Regions from separate parts of the Homo sapiens genome. Here regions 2 and 3 are each linked to region 1. Evidence: promoter capture Hi-C in 16 types of primary human blood cells and fetal thymus (Javierre and others, 2016). All regions are on one chromosome and are shown on one strand. The core of a region is centred on a gene start or on the middle of the fragment in contact, and the rest is flanking DNA. Distances in the headings are between cores, read along the strand shown. Region 1 holds the start of H4C2 (H4 clustered histone 2). Region 2 holds the start of TRX-CAT1-4 (tRNA-iMet (anticodon CAT) 1-4). Region 3 holds the start of BTN3A2 (butyrophilin subfamily 3 member A2).

What was found. The method cuts DNA at HindIII sites, captures the fragments that hold promoters and counts their contacts. A CHiCAGO score of 5 or more calls a contact.
Region 2: a fragment that was not itself captured here is called in contact with the fragment with the promoter of H4C2 in region 1 in 1 of 17 cell types (neutrophils); the score reaches 5.9 in neutrophils.
Region 3: a contact is called between the fragment with the promoter of BTN3A2 here and the fragment with the promoter of H4C2 in region 1, in 1 of 17 cell types (neutrophils). The highest score is 9.6, in neutrophils.

The regions. Positions count from the first base shown.
Region 1 is chr6:26,025,078-26,028,613 of GRCh38, forward strand. H4C2 (H4 clustered histone 2) reads right to left here and starts at 2,206. Exons shown (of 1, transcript NM_003544.3): 1 at 1,819-2,206. The coding sequence starts at 2,175. The coding sequence ends at 1,864. RefSeq lists enhancers at 1,819-1,868, 1,899-1,958, 1,979-2,298, 2,275-2,860, 2,861-3,445 and 2 more. The HindIII fragment of the contact is 5,368 bases long and covers 840-3,536 here.
Region 2 is chr6:26,328,594-26,331,790 of GRCh38, forward strand. TRX-CAT1-4 (tRNA-iMet (anticodon CAT) 1-4) reads right to left here and starts at 1,779; the gene lies at 1,708-1,779. TRW-CCA3-2 (tRNA-Trp (anticodon CCA) 3-2) reads right to left here and starts at 2,922; the gene lies at 2,851-2,922. LOC101928743 (a long non-coding RNA gene) reads right to left here. Exons shown (of 3, transcript XR_241992.5): 1 at 3,134-3,197; 2 at 417-494. The HindIII fragment of the contact is 1,422 bases long and covers 1,015-2,436 here.
Region 3 is chr6:26,363,322-26,366,560 of GRCh38, forward strand. It overlaps BTN3A2 (butyrophilin subfamily 3 member A2), which reads left to right and starts at 1,877. Exons shown (of 11, transcript NM_007047.5): 1 at 1,877-2,031. RefSeq lists an enhancer at 1,835-1,884. The HindIII fragment of the contact is 4,055 bases long and covers 96-3,239 here.

The DNA of each region.
Region 1 (3,536 bases), core at 956-3,455:
TGTCTCCCAGGCCTAAGTGTAATAGCGCGATCTCAACTCACTGCAACTTCTGCCTCCCGAGTTCAAGCTATTCTCCTGTCTCACCCTCCCGAGTAGCTTGGATTACAGTCGCCCGCAACCATGCCCAGCTAATTTTTTTTTTTTTTTTAGTAGAGACGGGGTTTCACAATATTGGCCAGGCTGGTCTCGAACCCCTGACCCCAGGTGATCCACCAGGCTCAGCTTTCCAAAGTGCCGGGATTACAGGCGTGAGCCACCTTGCCGGGCCTATATTTCTTAAGCTCTATGTTTCGTTCTGAAGCTTGAAGTGGGTGGAAGCAAACTGATAGAATTTGGAGAGGTGGTTAGGCATCCCGGGAATGAGAAACAGCCCGAAGCTGCCACTATCACAGGCTTTGGCATTGCTAGAAGTTAACGTGGCACTTACAGCTAGGCCGTGGTGTTCTGTTGAACAAACTATTTGACAGAGCACAGAGCATGTAAGTGGTGAGGCCAGTTGAGTTAGCCAAGAAAAGAGGAGTCCAAGAACTGAGCCAGAGTACACCAGAGTATGTAGTGGAGTACAGCTTTCTCATTCTTTAGTAGGGCTGTGTAGAGAAATACTCTATTTTATGGATGTATAGATCACTCTAGTCCTTTCTGATGAAAACTTTACAGTTGCCACTCATTTACTATTACAAACAATGCTGCACTACATTATGTTTCAGTTTTTAGCCATCTCATCTGGTCTCAGCATTTATTTATCTGCTGATGACTCACACATTTTTATCTCCAGCTCAGACCTCTCACCCGAACTCACTTATTCAACTGCCTATTCACTATATCCTCCTGTCAGGAGAAGCTTGTTAGCAAAGTAACCAGAAAACAAAGTTGATTTTTTTTGCTGAAGTAGCCATCAATATATTTGTTACTAAATCAAAGATGCTGAATATTTGGCTGACTTCTAAAAATCTGGTCACCTAACTTTGACACTTCCTAGGTCGTACAGTTTGAAACTTTCACAATTAAATCAGTTTTGGAATTTACAATTTAAGGCAGGAATAGAAGACTATTGGGTTGACAGGTACAGTGAAGATGCAAGTCATCTGAGAATCTTACATCAGAGGGGGCTTCCATCTTATAGCTGCTGCCACGGACCTCGGAGTCAGAAGAAATTTGAGTCCTTATTTATAAAACAGACTCCCTTAGTCTACTAAGTGGGAATTTACGAACTGCGTAGGCAGCCTGCTTAGGGGAGCCTCCAGCCTGAGGACTGAAAATAGCAAAGCAGCTTTAACCGCCAGTCCTACTCCAGAGAAGGGGGAGGTGACGTCACTCAGCAGGACGCCAAGCTCAACTAGAAATGGAAGTAAAGGCTTCTGGCGCTACCGGCAGGGGGCGGTTAAGGACGGCAGGTGTTACCAGGGAAGCTAAAAGTACAGCTTTTGCTGACGTTAAGTCAGATACGCCTGGGAAAACAGACCTGACACCCATTTTAATCCACCTACTCAGTTCCAGGCAGCTAGCATCTTAGGCTCTCGTACAAATAACGCACAACTCGTTTTTAAAACTAAAAAGCTGAGCTACTCATTTATCGGACTCGCGCTGCACGTTAAGTTGCTTGACATGTCAAAACTATAGCATTGAAGTTTATAGCTCACTTATCTCGGAGACCTCGTTTACTTAGCTGATTTCTGCTTTAGCAGCCACTCAGACCAAACAACCTGGTCTCTCCCAACTGGTTTATAATAGTTCTACATACTAGGCAGAATAGCCGAGTAAAGCCATTGAGATGTTACCATCCGAAAGAATACAATCACAGCTCTTTCTGAGAGGGAGTGGGCGGCCCTGAAAAGGGCCATTGGAAGAAAACTGACGAAAAGATTAACCGCCGAAGCCGTACAGAGTGCGTCCTTGACGCTTGAGCGCGTAAACCACATCCATGGCAGTGACAGTCTTGCGCTTGGCGTGCTCCGTGTAGGTCACGGCGTCCCGGATCACGTTCTCCAGAAACACCTTGAGAACGCCACGAGTCTCCTCATAAATCAAACCGGAAATTCGCTTAACCCCACCACGCCTAGCAAGGCGCCGAATGGCCGGTTTGGTGATGCCTTGGATGTTATCCCGCAGCACTTTTCGGTGACGCTTGGCACCTCCCTTACCCAAACCTTTACCGCCTTTGCCGCGACCAGACATGTCTAACCAGCTGACAACAAAAACCAGGTACGCGAAAAGAAAGCAAGCCACGAGCATTTATACACGAACATCGGACCTTATTGAGAACTGAAAGCGGGAGCGAGGATAAGGAGGCGTTGCTGCCTCACTTTTTGCTCCGCCCCTCGAGGGGCAGTGACCTAAGGACTGCGAGGGAGAACACAATAGTTTCACTTTTTAATCCCTTTAGTTTTTCCCTCCCGTTTACGACACTACTATTTGAATCTGAATTTATACCCTCGACTGAGAATTTTAATAAGGGCTTATATTAAGGGCTTTCACTAATATGCCGGAGTGGTAAACTTTTTAAGTCTTTCAAGTGCTTGAAGACATATTGACTATTCAAAGGTACTTAAAAGAGCAGGCGTGAAAAGATCACTCTGGCCTTATGTTTTCTTGAAAGCTGACCTGTTTCTTAGAAGCAGTAGGTGAAATTCTCATATGAAAGATGTTCTCACTGTAGTTTAAAAAAAGCAACATTCTTCTCAAGGATAGGAGGCTGAGGCCAAGAGAATTCTGTACAAACCTTGCACTAGCCCTTGCTGGGCGCTTCTCTACACAGTTATATATTCTAGCCTAAATCCCTTTGCTTTAGCGCATTTTTACATTTTACTAATTGTCCAATTCATTATATAAGTAGCTAACTGCTTTTTTTGGGCTTTCATTACCTTATGAGAGCACCTGTGTCACGTAAAACCTGTGTTAAATAAATGCATATACCTTTCTCCTGTTAATCCATTTTACATTAATTTAATTTGCTGGTCCAGCCAGAGCCCTAAGAGGATGGGAGTGGAGTTTTGCTATCCTTCACACTGTACTGTCTCATTCAGAAGAGGGTGATAGCTCATTGCAACCGTGCCTTCATCTGTAAATCGGGTTATGATGATACTCAGGGGACTTTTAATTAGCTAATGTGAACGAGGCATGAGAAGAGACTGTGGAAAAGAAATAAATATTACATAATATGGTTTAATTTTAGATGTTACTACTTAAAAAAATCTGCTCAGAGTTGGGATATTGTCCTGAACTCTCATTTTCGTGTTTTTACTCCCAACACTATATTGCTAGCAGCAACTATGTATGTATTAGTAAGGATTGTTTTTTTAAAATCACAGCCTGTAATAACGTACAAGGTGTTGACAGATTCCGTTTAGCTTTTCATATGTGACATGTTAAAATTGTCCGAAAATATTCCTTTGTTCTCTTTTCCAAGGTGCAATACAATAGCAGCATTCGTGCTTTCCTATAGCCAAGTCTGGAGTGTAGTTCAACTCTCCATACACGCTTCTCACTGTTGTTTTAAATTTCCTGAAAACATTCTTAAATCACTTCTATTGGAAAAA
Region 2 (3,197 bases), core at 476-2,975, 300 kb after region 1:
AGTAGCTGGGATTACAGGCATGTGCCACGACACCCAGCTAATTATTTTTGTATTTTTAATAGAGAGGAGGTTTCGCCATGTTGGCCAGGCTGGTCTGGAACTCCTGATCTCAAGTGATCAGCCCGCCTCGCCCTCCCAAAGTGCTAGATTACAGGCGTGAGCCACCACGTCCGTTTGGGAAAACCTTGTGTCATTCTGTGAGAGTTACGATTGAGAATTCACAAACAGAAAATTTCTAGATAGCAAACAATTTTGGTTTCTTTTCTATCCTTTTCGCATACTCATAATTTCAAGAATCACTTGAAACAAAAATCAAGTCTCTTCTCTGCTCCCTGTCCTCTAGCAATTTTTAAAGTTATTGAAACATATTCCTGATTTGCATTATAGAAAACACCCAAAGAACATTCTCAGCTTACCACATATGCGCCTGAACTTGAAGTTTGTTGATTCCTTCTAAGTTTTGTTGGCAGGACGTGAACTCAGCTATTAAATTCCTGGTAAAGCGAGAGGTACAATATGTGACATATAATAACATGTACGACGTTTAAGAAAACTTTTGGCACCTATAGTCGTGGCTGAGTGGTTAAGCCTACTTTTTAAACATTTAAATAGCTTATTTTAAAATTATTTACCTACATATCTCTAAATAATATGTTTGTATGGACCTTCTGTTGACTTTATATAAGAGGAGTAACTGGTTCACTTTCTTCTTCACACCCCAGGACCCCCGACACACACATGCTCCCTTTCTAAGTCTTCTCATATGGTTATAGCACAATACATGATACTTTAATATTTGTAGCTTAAAATATGACAACTTTATAAACATAATTCAACAAGTGGGCAAAGAAATACATTGTTAAGTTTTCCTTTCCTTGCAATTTTTATTTTTCCCCGGCATTAGTACATAACTGTCTTTTCTTGTTGTTTTACTGCTTAAGCTTCTAGACACTTTTCATTAATTCAACCCCAAGCATTTCGTCAGTTGTCTAAACATTTCTCCAAAAGTTCAAAAGCTTTGCACAGTCTGTAGATTTCATCCTACTTTAAACATGTCTCCTTATGCATCTGTATTAGTTTGAGTAAACAGAAAAATAAGAACAGGAAAAAAAGTGTCACCTACAGCCTGCTCAAATCTGGACATGTTACTATATGTCACATATGGTACCTCTCATTTTACTAGGGATTTAATAATACTAGGTGAGTTCATGTCCTACTAATAAAACTCGGAAGGAATAGCTGAAATAACTTTTGAAGTTTGCTGTAAATATTAGTGTTTGTAATTATGCAGAACGGCGGTTTAGAGTTTTATCTTTGCTCTACCATTTACTAGCTGCATGACTTTGGGCAAGTTAGTTAACCTCTGCAAACCCCAACTTGCAGACAAACCCCAATTTGTCTCATTTGTAAAGTAAGAGTAATAGCAAGTATTTACTTCGTAGAATTGCGAGGAATAAATGATTCAGAACTTGGAATAGTGCATGGTATCTATTAACTGTTCAAACAATCAAAGCTAAAACTACTGCTTTTGTTATTTTTAATCTAATTAGGATAGTAATGTATTGCAACCAGAGATATAGATCTCTGAGAGAGGTGCAAATCAAAATAAGTTCCCTTACGGTGTCCATGACAATTATACCAATTTCCTCCTCCTATGAGGTAGATCTATTTTTGGAAGGGGGAAAAACAAATCCACAAAACGCTCCCTAGCAGAGGATGGTTTCGATCCATCGACCTCTGGGTTATGGGCCCAGCACGCTTCCGCTGCGCCACTCTGCTACGCGAGTCACAGGTCCCAGAGTTAATAGTCACCTTTTTTCTAGCGTGTCAAGTTTCCAAATCTCAAAATTATGTCTTCTCTCTTTTTTTTTTTTCCAGAGCAGTAATCTGTTCGTAATATGGCCATAGGCTTAGACTACTACTAAGAAAAGAGTTAATAAGAAATAGGAAAAAGGTTATTTTAGGTACACTTCTCCGATGTAATGTTTGTCACTGTGTATTGTGTGAATGTGTACAGTAAATACATAAGAGAAAATCTGCTAATATTTCAAATGTCATGTTTTAAAGTCATTGTAAGTTATAAAAATTTAAACACTTCTGAAGAAATAAACGTACTTTTCCTTTTTTCCATGTTGTAATTTGCTAATTCATAATCTGTAGGGGGTCTTGAGCCACATGTGGGGAAAAAAACGGCACATTCATGCACATTTTCAGATAATACTATAAGGGGGTTCACGGAATAGCTAGCCTTCTCTGATGTAATGGTTCATTCCCTGTATGAATTTGAGAAAGTAACTGCATTCAGGTTTTCTGCCTCTGGAAATCAAGTGACTTCTTCCGTGATTTGCAGGGAGGGTTGAGGAAATCGCAGAGATCCAGGGAAGTTCAATGGAATCGCTTTAGCCTGGAACAGCTGATCCAAATATGAAGCAGGTAAGCTTAGGTCATCCACTCAAACCAGACTACGTCTCTGCGAAGATCTGCTAAGCTTCTGAAGGTTGGAGAGACAGACATGGATGAAAAGATAAGGCCGCGGGCGTGGGAGTGAGTATGGAGAGAAGTCCAGGAGGGTTTAACAATAGGGATGAGTTGCTGAAGAGTATAATTCAGAATGTTTGCAATAAAAGAGTGAAAACGTCTCTATAAACCCGGAAATAAGCCCCAAAATACCATAACATATTCCTGTATATATCTTCCTACTAAAAAAAGAGAAGGGGGTAGTTTTGAGGAGGCTAAAGTAACTGAGTATACAAGTGCCTAAGAGAAGCAGGAAAAGCAACTTTTTTCCCCCTGTAATATGTAATGTACTCCCCGCCATACAGTTATCTGAGCCAGCGAGCTAAAAACTGTTGACCCCGACGTGATTTGAACACGCAACCTTCTGATCTGGAGTCAGACGCGCTACCGTTGCGCCACGAGGTCTCCGGGACACCTACGTTTTATTTACCTGTCAATCTGATTCATGAAAATAATTTCGGTACTGGTGAAGACCAGGCAGCTATTAACAGATACAAAATAGTGCCTAGCTGCTTCCCTCTCGGTAAAATTGCTGTCCGCCCAATCACTGATTTTCTCTGCCTCTGAATTGCTTCATTTTCACCTGTTCTTGTTTATATTTCATTCCGTTTCTTACCTAGTTTTCCCTGTATATTCCAAATATAGACGTCTTGGGAGTTTCGTTGTTTTTATCTTTATAG
Region 3 (3,239 bases), core at 627-3,126, 340 kb after region 1:
AGACATTGAGTGAGAAATGAACTTAGGGGTCTCATAGTTTGGAAACTACAAAGTTCAGAGATATGAAGAGTTGGGCTCAGAAACTCCTAATCTGAAGCTTAGCACATTGGCTGCTTCTTTGTGTCAAAGTGACTTGGACCCTCCAGGCAAAGGTGGGATGTTCATTCTTACTAATACGATCTCAAGCAGCACAGCTTCTGATAGAGTCTGAATTTAAAAATAAACAAATGAACAAATAAACAAATATTGATGGATGAATAGGGGTGAACAGCAGGATGGATTTATAATAAAGTAAGAAACTAAAATATTAATTATACAATCTACATGGTAGATATATTGGAATTTACTGAAATTCTTTCACCTTTGCTATATGTTTTAGAAGTTTTATAATAAACTGTTGGGGAGGGGGAAGGGGGAGGGAAAAATTGTGTTTTTCTGTTGATAACAGAGACCAGAAGTACCACTGGCTTAAATAAAACAAGGATTTGTTTTCCTTTCATGAAAAACAAACTTATTTGGAAATTTACCCTGAGTACTAATATATAATAAAATATTTTAAAAGAAAAAATTTTTTAAATAAATTTAGATGGTGACAGTCCAGGGCTGATCTGGCACCTCAGATATGTCATTCATGCCCCAGCCTGCTTCTGACTTCATTCTCTGCTGTCCCAGTGTGTGGCTTCCAACCTCAAGGCTGCCTCATGGTCCCAGGGTGGGCTACTGCACCTCCGGGTCCAAAGTCCATGTTCTAGGCAAGAGGAAGAAGGAAGAAGGGAGAGTGTACCCTCACACTCCCAGCTATTTTGGCCTCCCTTTGAAGGATTTCTGGGAGAAGTACAAGCCCACAACTTTCACCTACAAACCGCTGGCTCCAACTTAGTCCCTTGGCCTGCCCTATCTTCAAGGGGGAAGAGCAGGATGCAGTACCCCAGAAAATTAGGCCTTGTCACTAAGAAGAAGGGGGCATGCACGCTGCAGAAGCAACCAGCCATCTCAAGCAGATACCACACAGCCTAAATTCAAACTGTTGCAATATAATCAAATCCCATCAGCTCCAGTCACATATTAGCTCTAGGAGATTTCTGGCTTGCAGCCCAAAAAAGTGTGTTTTGAGGTCGTAAGCCACAGGGAGAACAAGATTGTCCCATAAACTCCTTACAGAGATGGTGTACAGGAAACGAGCCTTACAGAGACCACAGCCTATGGAGTGTCTAGCTTCAGAGAATATGTACTCCACTGGCAGCGTGAGAAACAAATACCCAAGAAAATACAATATAGCACAAACCAGGAGCTGAGGGTGAATGAAGATGCTCAGAAAGATCTGCAGTAAGAATTTCCTGGGAAAGGTAAAACAATGTCAAGCAGCACTGCCTCTGGAAATCAGAAAAATTATATTATTTGATACCATATCCTAAGCCTAAATGCCAGAAGTTCTTAAAGAGGTGCAGTTTGTCTCATTTTCTTTCCATTCATACCTTTATTAGGCTCTGTAAAAAAGATCCTCCTCTTCTACGTACCTATCTACATGCAAGCAAACTGCCACAGAAGCATCTTAATTAGTGCACATCTTCCTCTCTTTGCACATTAAATTTTTTTACTTTCCTACTCCATTCTGCTAATATTTCTATTACCATGTAAAAGACACGAGACAGGTGAATATAAAGAAATACTTATATACATCCACGCACAAGAATGATTCAAATAGATAAACACAGAAACACAAACACTAAGGGAGGTAGGGCTGGAGTTTTTCCTCAACGTGTACAATTCAATGTACTTTCAGTTTTCATTTCAACGTTCCTCAGTGGTTTCTGCCCAGCAACTGATGAGAAACATCACCTCTGAGCCAATCAAAAAACTAATTCTTCCAAAGAGCGACTCTTACTGTTTCTCATGGTGAGAAGACAATATTTGCTTTCTCTTTTTCCTTTCTTCCGGATGAGAGGCTAAGCCATAATAGAAAGAATGGAGAATTATTGATTGACCGTCTTTATTCTGTGGGCTCTGATTCTCCAATGGGAATACCAAGGGGTAAGTGCAGGAAATTGATTAGAGCCTGGGCTACAACGCATGGGAGGAGCGGGGCTGAATCGCTGAGAGTGGTGAGTGGGCATGCAGGGAGAGTACTCTCCCAGAGAAAGGGGTGCAGTGCCTGTGTGTGTGTGTGTGTGTGTGTGTGTGTGTGTGTGTGTGTGTACATGTGTACATGTGCACACTCGCACATGCACATATGGGCACGTGGGAAGACGGGAGAAGTACTGCAAAGTATAAGGAACTGCAGAGGTTGGGATTTAGTGGAAGGAAAGGGAGACAACATGAATGAAGAAATATTCCAACTGCATGTTCTTAACGTATTGTGGTCAGAAAAGGGCAAACAAACAAACAAACAAAAAACCCTTAAAATCTGTTCTGGCCAACTCAAGGCATCTATTCTGAGAAATTCTGAAGAAGAAGAAGAAAAAAGAGATGTGCCTCATAGATTTATATGTAAATGTGTTTATTACAGAAGTATTTATAATATAGTAAAATCTGAACCAACATACATATTCAACAGGTGGGGAATAGACAAACAATGCATGGTTCAGTCATAAAACATGTTCCATGTAACCATTAGGAATCATAATTTTAATTAAGTGAAATTCTTTATAATTTTAATAACACTGGATCCTTATATTAAACCATTTTTGGTATCTTTTAGGGATAGTACTTGGTTTTCTTTCCATTCATCATTTCCCCAAAACCTAAAGCATGATTTCCCATGGTTACAAGCTACTACATTGTATGAATATATAATTATTGGGAGTCTCTGTGAGCCTACTCTGACTCAGAAAGCCGCTCCTAAAGAAGAAAAAAGAACAAACAAACAAATAAAAAACCCGAATTATTTTTAAAACTCTTTATTTTGGATTTTTCAGTTTCTACATTTTGTTACTGTAGATTTTACTAGATTGAACAGCCTTATCCATAAATATTTGCATCAATCTCTAAATTTTTTTCTTCAACACTAACTTTTATAGTTGGAATTTTGGGGGCAAATAATACAACATTTTAAAGGCACTTGCCATGTGTACATGGCCAAATGCTTCCAGAAACATTTCCACTTCCATTAGCAAAGTATATAACTACAGAGTATTTAAGGTTTTATTCCTTTATATTTTTTTCTTTGGCAAAATTGTCTATAGTAGAAAGAATGAATAATAAATAACCTAAAAAATAAAAGTTCTCCCTCTGAGGACAGC